Linked DNA regions of Homo sapiens: region 2 is linked to region 1. Evidence: promoter capture Hi-C in human tissues and cell types (Jung and others, 2019). All regions are on one chromosome and are shown on one strand. Each heading gives the region's core, a stretch centred on a gene start or on the middle of the fragment in contact. The rest is flanking DNA. Distances are from core to core; before and after follow the strand shown. Region 1 holds the start of CCDC63 (coiled-coil domain containing 63). Region 2 has its middle 7.4 kb from the start of PPP1CC.

What was found. The method cuts DNA at HindIII sites, captures the fragments that hold promoters and counts their contacts. A contact is called where the count stands out against the background at its distance.
Region 2: a fragment that was not itself captured here is called in contact with the fragment with the promoter of CCDC63 in region 1 in 5 of the 25 tissues and cell types used here (dorsolateral prefrontal cortex, hippocampus, lymphoblastoid cells and 2 more).

The regions. Positions count from the first base shown.
Region 1 is chr12:110,845,640-110,850,011 of GRCh38, reverse strand. It overlaps CCDC63 (coiled-coil domain containing 63), which reads right to left and starts at 3,025. Exons shown (of 12, transcript NM_152591.3): 1 at 2,907-3,025. The HindIII fragment of the contact is 19,678 bases long and covers 1-4,372 here.
Region 2 is chr12:110,748,318-110,752,177 of GRCh38, reverse strand. No RefSeq gene overlaps it. Among named protein-coding and RNA genes, the nearest start is that of PPP1CC, 7.4 kb to the right of the region's middle. The HindIII fragment of the contact is 5,871 bases long and covers 1-3,860 here.

The sequences.
Region 1 (4,372 bases), core at 1,776-4,275:
CCTAACTTCTTTCTGCCTAACACAAATCTGATTTTGTACCCCTTCAATGTGCCCAGTCCCAGAGGATGACTCATGATTGTTTCCTGCTAATCATGGTAACCCCACTTCCCTTTGTCAATGATTGGTCTAATGATAGACATGTGACCCAGATATGGCCAATGAGACATAAGGAGAAGTATATTCCATTCCTTTGGGACAAAAAGTGAGAACTTGGGCCGGGCGCAGTGGCTCATGCCTGTAATCCCAGCACTTTGAGAGGCCAAGGCAGGCAGATCACTTGGGGTCAGGAGACTGAGACCAGCCTGGCCAACATTGTGAAACCCCGTCTCTACTAAAAATACAAAAATTAGCTGGGCATGGTGGTGGGCACCTGTAATCCCAGCTACTCAAGAGGCTGAGGCAGGAGAATCACTCGAGCCTGGGAGATGGAGGTTGCAGTGAGCTGAGATCGCACCACTGCACTCTAGCCTGGGCAACAGAGTAAGACTCCATCTCAAAAAAAAAAAAAAAAAAGGAAATAAGAGCTTGTTCGTGTTCCTCTCTCCTTCTGCTTTTAGAAATTATTGTGAAGGCATGCATGATGGTTCAGTGGCAACCCTCCCATGACCATGAAGAGAAATATCACCGTCACACCTAAAGACAGCAAAGAGGAAAGACAGGAAAAAATTTAGGTTCTAACTGACACTGTTGGCTACTGCCCCATCCCTGGAACTGCCTACCTCTAGACATCATGTTAGGTGAAATAGCAAGAGTCACTGTTGTTTAAGGCAGTCACCAAATATTTTGTTCATTGAAGCCTAAAGCATTCCTAACTGACATGGTCCATACCTTGAAAATGGTTCTCAGGTTAATGGGTGATAGGAAAATAGTGGCTGGTAATGTAGGAACCTCTGGATTTTCCCTGATGTTTTTGAGGGTTTGGGGGCCAACTGAATTGTCTGATGTTGGGAAATTCCCACAGGCAGGGAAGTGGTATAAGACAATGGTTCTGTATCTTGATCATTTCTGGAAGGGTCCTCCAGGTAGGAGTAGAAGCTGTAGGAGGATTTACCTGACTAACAAGGTTTGGGCACAGGATGCTCTCTCTGGGACCTCTTTCAGCCCTGGAATTTGGGGCAGCTCCAATTTCATATTGTCCAGGAGCTGTTCTATGTTCCAGGGCCCTTTGGGTCCTAAGTGGATTTGTAATGCACCATCTTAATAACATGAACTGGGTATATCTGACCTTCACTGACAGTGTGATTTGACCTCTCTGAGCTTCAGTTTCCTCATCTGTAGAATGGGGATACCCACACCCATATCTCAGCGCAAAATAATGTCTGTAAAGTGGTTAGCATAGTGCCTAGCTCATGACAGACGCTGGGCGAACGTAGCCTGTTTGTGAAGTGGGATTTTCAAGTACCAGTCTGTCTGGCCCATGAGATCATTGGCTGGGTTATGCACCATTCTCCAGGAACCAAAAGCTCCATCACCTCCTGCCTTTTTGCTGATCCATATGCGCATACATAGTCACTCTCCCCTAGGGTGCTGGCTTCTCTTCAGGTTCCAGATGTTAACCCAGGCCTTTCCCTTTCGATCAGTGCCCTCTGGGATGGGCTCCTACATTCCCTGGGGAACAGATCCACCCCCTCACCCCCATCCTCATAGCTTGGCCTGCAGAGCATCTCCTGGATGTCCTGACCCCTGGCTTACCACCCTCTCATTCAAGGGTCTGAAACTCATAGTCCATGGGGCCAATTCAACCTACCTCCAGTTCTGTTCCACAGTGTTTCAAAACATAAATGTGGGTCATGCACTCACTCTCCTGGCCACAGGCCCCACTCCTCCCTATTGGCTAAGCTCCCCTCCCCACAATTCTCACATTTTCTGTAACTGCCTAGAGCCAGTAGGAATTTGAATTTGCAGTTCCTGTTAGGAATCTAAAAGCTGCCCACTTCTGGGGAACAGCGTGTGCGAGGAAAAGTGCAGAGAAGCCCAGCAGCCCAGGTCAGGGGACGTCAGGCAAGGGCCTCCTGCCCCTTGGGCCTCAGTCTATTCACCACAGCATCCATAGTCCTGGGCGCATGGGCAGCTCTTGGCAAATACAGTTTGAATGAATGAAGTTTCCTCCAGGCAGAGATCATCTTCATTTATCTAATATCTAATTAGGCCTGCACCTCATCTGCTTCTGAATTTTAACAACCTGCCTTTAAAAGACAAGCCTGCCCCCGAAGGATTCCCTAGGGACCTTGGGACAGGCAGCTATGTGGATCATATTGAGCCAGGGCTGCACAACCTGGAATTAAACATGTGCTTAGGGCACTAGCCAAACAGGAGCACAGAAACACATACACAGTTTTTTGTTGTTGTTGTTGTTTTTCTTGTTTTTTGTTTGTTTGTTTTGTTTTTTGTTTTTTAAGGATTATTATGGGAGGAAAATAAAAATTTGTTGAACTTTTTTTTTTTCCTTTTTTGAGAGCGTCTCTCTCTCTCTCTGTCACCCAGGCTAGCGTGCAGTGGTTCAATCTCGGCTCACTGCAGCCTCAACCTTCCCGGGCTTAAGCGATCCTCCCCCTTCAGCCTCCCAAGAAGCTGGGACTACAGGTGGCACCACCACGCCCGGCTAAGTTTTTAAATATTTTGTAAAGACGAATTTGCCCGAGCTGGTCTCGAACCCCTGGGCTCAAGCGATCCTCTTGCCTCAGCCTCCCAAAGTGCTAGAATTACAGGCATGAGCCACCTCGCGCGGCTCTGGAGTTATTTTACACACTACAATTTATTTATGCATGATTGCGGGAGACCCTGATACTTTCAACGCTTAGGGCAGCGAGATATGAATGGACTGGGGACCGCGACCGCTCTTTCCTTTTCCCTGGCAGGGGGAGCTGTGGCGCAGCAGGCGCGGCCGGGCGGGCGGCGAAACTTACCAGTGGCGGGGCCCGGACTGCTTGTCCGTGGCTGCTCCGGCCGCTTGTCCGACGGCTGCTGCAACTGCGCTTCCGACGGTGCCGGGAGGACTGCTTGCTGCGCGGCCTCGCTGCGCCACACCCCCAGCCCCACGCCCGGGCGTTCTGGGACCCCTGGAACGGGCGCCTTTGTGACTCGCACAAACATGGACGTTCTCCCCTGCAAGTCCGCTGGGAGGGCACAGGGCCCTCGGGAGGAGAGGACAAGAGCAGCTGGTTGGAGGGAAGCTTTTGGTTGGGGGAGAGGGGCGACACACTCTCCAGCGACCCCTTACCAGACTACCCGGACCCTCATGACGCTAAGTGACTTCTTGAGTCAATCAACAGTCTTAGCCCCTCCCTCGGCCAACGCCATGCAATCGCTGGTCCACCTCGCCCCACTCACACCCCATTCACCGTCTTCTTAGCCTACACCTACACTCATGCTCACAGCAGCCCTGCTAGGTACAGACTTCACACGCAGCTAACTCAAAGGAGCCCAGTTTTTTCTACTCTGAAAAATAAAATAAAGTAAAAATAAATTAAAAAAAAATGTTGGGGCGGGGGGGGAAAGAGATATTTCATGAGAAAAATAACTTCATCAGTGCAGGAGAATTTTCTTCAGAACATCCACCTGACCCCCACCCACTGTGAGCATAACACGGGAACCCAAGTGTGATCCAGGCAAGTGAGCTTTTCACTGCCCTAACGGAGTTTAGTGGTTTAAAGATACACATTTTTCATACAATCGGCCCTGAAACACAAGTCAACTACTTTCTCTGGGGCTAAGCTCTAGAAACAATCACAGAATTAATGGAAAATTATTGGGGGTACCTGTTTTCTACAGTAATTTTGATTCCATGTGATTTCCACTTTAACTCCTAGCCCCCTGAGTGGATTGTAGTAGCTCAGCCCTGCTAAGGTCTCCACTTCATCCGTAAATTCTTGGGACAGGATGTGTGTTTTAGAACTTACCATATTTTGGAGGCCAGGTGCGCTGGCTCATGCCTATAATCCTAGCACTTTGGGAGGCTGAGGCAGGTAGATCATTTAAGGTCAGGAGCTCAAGACCAGCCTGGCCAACATGGTGAAACCCTGTGTATTTCTTTTTTTTTTTTTTTTTTTTTTGTATTTCTACTAAAAATATAACAAATTTAGCCCGGCATGGTGGCACACACCCGGTGGGTGCCTGTAGTCTCTGCTACTCGGGAGGCTAGGGCAGGAGAATTGCTTGAACCCAGGAGGCAAAGGTTGCCGTGAGCCAAGATCACACTCACTCCAGCCTGGGTGACAGAGTGAGACTCCGTTTCAAAAAAAAAAAAAAGAACTTACCATGTTTTTGGTTTCAGAAAGATAATATGGTACGCAAGGGAGTATGTTGCCCCTAATGTTGCTGGCAGCCACGTTGTAACCATGAGGGAAGTCAGTGGGACAGTATATTACATACA
Region 2 (3,860 bases), core at 160-2,659, 96 kb after region 1:
AAAAAAATAAAGAAAAAAAACTAAGTCAAATATGGCCAAATGTTAACATTTGGAATCTCTGGAGTGTGAAGAGGGGTATCTATATGCAAGTACTTTAAGCTTTAAATAGTTCATTGCATTTTTTTCATTACCAATCTATACTTCGCTCCAAGTTCTAAATAGTTCATTACAATGTTTTTTTCTTTTTCTTTTTTTTTTTTTTTTGAGATGGAGTCTCACTCTGTCACCCAGGCTGGAGTGCAGTGGTGCTGTCTCAGCTCACTGCAGCCTCCACCTCTCAGGTTCAAGTGATTCTCCTGCCTCAGCCTTCTGAGTAGCTGGGACTACAGGCGTCCACCACCACACCCAGCTAATTTTTGTATTTCTAGTAGAGATGGGGTTTCACCATGTTGGCCAGGCTGGTTTCGAACTCCTGACCTCAGGGATCCACCTGCCTTGGACTCCCAAAGCGCTGCGATTACAGGCGTGAGCCACCGTGCCCAGCCAAAACATGTTTTTTAAGGAATGGGGTCTCACTACATTGTTCAGGCTAGTCTCAAACTCCTGGGCTTGAAGCAATCCTCTCACCTTGGCCTCCCAAAATGCTGGAATTACAGGTGTGAGCCACCACACTGGCCAGAAGACATCTTTTATTGTCATGATTGGAGAAGAGGGGCATGCTACTTGTATCTGGTGGGTAGAAATCAGGGATGCCGCTAAACACCATGTAGTACACAGGACAGAACCCGCTCGACAGAGAACGATCTAGCCCAAAACGTCAATAGCGCCCAGGTCAACAATCCCTGCTCTAAAGTGAGCCTCCCTTTGCCAGACTTTGTTCCAAATGGCAGTGCGATCCACCCTCCAGATGCTGGGATAGCTTGTTTCTTTCCCGACCACAGAGTGAGTCATTTTGTGATGCTAAGGAACATTTAGCAAGGCGATAATCATCCTAGTTTCACTGTTGGATAATTCCAGATGAAAGTGTATTTGGGGCCTTCTCAAAGAAAGACACACCCAACGACAATGAAGGCTCTGTGAAGGCCAAGGCTGGTGCAAGAGGTTTTGAACAGCCCATCTAAATCCCCCTGCTCCAAGAAGGCTCCTGGGAACATCCCAAAGAATCTGCTCTCCCTGATCCCTAAGAACATAACTTCTGTGTTTGGAGGAAGAAGTGTGACATCAGATTCCCTGGGTTTAAATCCTGGCTCTGGCCCTCCCCAGCTGGGTTATAAATTATTTCCCTTGGCGAAACCTAACTCCTAAAATAGTGTGAAGATTAAAATGAGCATGCATGCAGGGCGCAATGGCTCAAGCCTGTAATCCCAGCACTTTGGGAGGCTGAGACAGGAGGATCGCTTGAGCCCAGGAGTTCAACATCAGCCTGGGCAACATAGCGAGACCCTATCTCTACAAAAAAAAAAAAAAATCAGAAAAATTAGGGCAGGCATGGTGGCTCATGCCTGTAATCCCAGAATTTTGGGAGGCCGAGGCAGGTGGATCACCTGAGGTCAGGAGTTCAAGACCAGCCTACAAAAATATTAGCCAGGTGTGGTGGTGCATGCTTGTCCTCCCAGCTACTCTATACTCTGGAGGGTGAGGCAGGAGAATCGCTTGAACCCAGGAGGCAGAGGTTGCAGTGAACGGAGATCATGCCACTGCATTCTACCCTGGGTGACAGAGTAAGACTTCGTTTCAAAAATAAAATAAAATGAGCATGCATGAAAGGCCATGAGCATAGAGATTGGCACACAGAAAACACTCAATAAATGCCAGCTATTATCACTGTTATTGTCATCATTATTCCTGTTAGCACCCTAAGTACATTGGAAGATACATTCTCACGATCACATTCTGAGATGGGTAATAATGTCCCCATTTTGCAGATTAGAAAACTAAGACTAATCAGTAAAGCCACCATATATATATAATATATGTATACACACACACACACACGCACACACATATATACATTTACAAGTATAAATATATATACATTTACAAGTATAAATATATACATTTACAAGTATAAATATATATACATTTACAAGTATAAATATATATACATTTATAAGTATAAATATATATACATTTATAAGTATATATACGTTTATAAATATAAATATATATACATTTATAAACATAAATACATATATTTATATATATAAATATATAAAATGGACATTTACTTTATACATGTGTATACTTTATATTTTATACATATATACATATATGTATATATGTGTATACATACATACAGATGTGTGTGTATGTGTATACATACAGATGTGTGTATATGTGTATATATGTACATATATATGTATGTATGTGTATATATACACATATATACACATACATATATACATGTGTGTATATATATATATACACACACACACATATATATATTACACAATTTCACTCTGTCACCCAGGCTGGAGTGCAGTGCTGAAATCTTGGCTCACTGCAACCTCCGTCTCCTGAGTTCAAGAGATTCTCCTGCCTCAGCCTCTGGAGTAGCTGGGATTACAGGCACCCACCACCATGCCCGCCTAATTTTTGTATTAGATGTAGAGATGAGTTTCGCCATGTTGGCCAGGCTGGCCTCGAACTCCTGACCTCAAGTGATCCGCCTGCATCAGCCTCCCAAAGTGCTGGGATTACAGGCATGAGCCACCGCTCCCGGCTAAAGCCACATTTTTCAACAGCCTGCTCTCTAGTCTCATAGCTTCCTCTCCTTCTCACCTACAGTCCATTCTCCTCACGGAAACCAAAGAAATCTTTTAAAAATGTAGGCTGTGCGCGGTGGTTCACGCCTGTAATCCCAGCACTTTGGGAGGCCGAGGTGGGAGGATCACCTGAGGTCAGGAGTTCGAGACCAGCCAGGCCAACATTAGCCAGGCATGATGGCAGGTGCCTGTAATCCCAGCTGCTCGGGAGGCTGAGGTGGGAGAATCGCTTGAACCCGGGAGGTGGAGGTTGCAGTGAGCCGAGATCATGCCATTGCACTTCAGCCTGGGTGACAGAGTAAGACTCTGTCTCAAAAAAAAAAAAAATGCAATCAGAGCTAAGCATGGAGGTGTGCACCTATAGTCCCAGTTACTTGGGTAGGAAGTAACTGTCCAGGAGTTCGTGTCCAGCCTGGGCACCATAGTAAAACCTGATCTTGGCCAGGCTCGGTGGTTCACACCTATAATCCTAGCACTTTGGGAGGCCAAGGTGGGTGGATCACTTGAGGTCAGGAGTTCGAGACCAGCCTGATCAACATGTAGAAGCCCCGTCTCTACTAAAAATACAAAATTTGCTGTGCGTGGTGGCACATGCCTGTAATCCCAGCTACTTGGGAGGCTGAGGCAGGAGAATCGCTTGAACCTGGGAGGCGGAGGTTGCAGTGAGATGAGATCGCGCCATTGCACTCCAGCCTGGACGACAAGAGCGAAACTCCATCTCAGAAACAAAACAAAACAAAACCCGATCTTTCAAAACACATACACACAATCAGACCTTATTTTGAAGAAGATGCTCTCTGGGTTATATGTGATGTGATATTTTATGATCCATCATTTTTTTGTGGGGGAGACAGGGTCTCACTCTGTCGCCCCAGCTGGAATGCAATGGCACAGTCACAGCTCACTGCAGCCTCAACCTCCGGGGCTCAAGCAATTCTTCTGCCTCAGCCTCCTGAGTAGCTGGGAGTTATAGGTGCACACCACCAAGCCCGGCTAATTTTTTGTATTTTTTGTAGAGACAGGGTATTGCCATGTTGCCCAGGCTGTTCTCAAACTCCTGAGTTCAAGCGATCCGCCCATCTCAGCTTCCCAAAGTGCTGGGATTACAGGCATGAGCCACCACGCCCAGCCTGATCCACCATTTCTTTATGATTT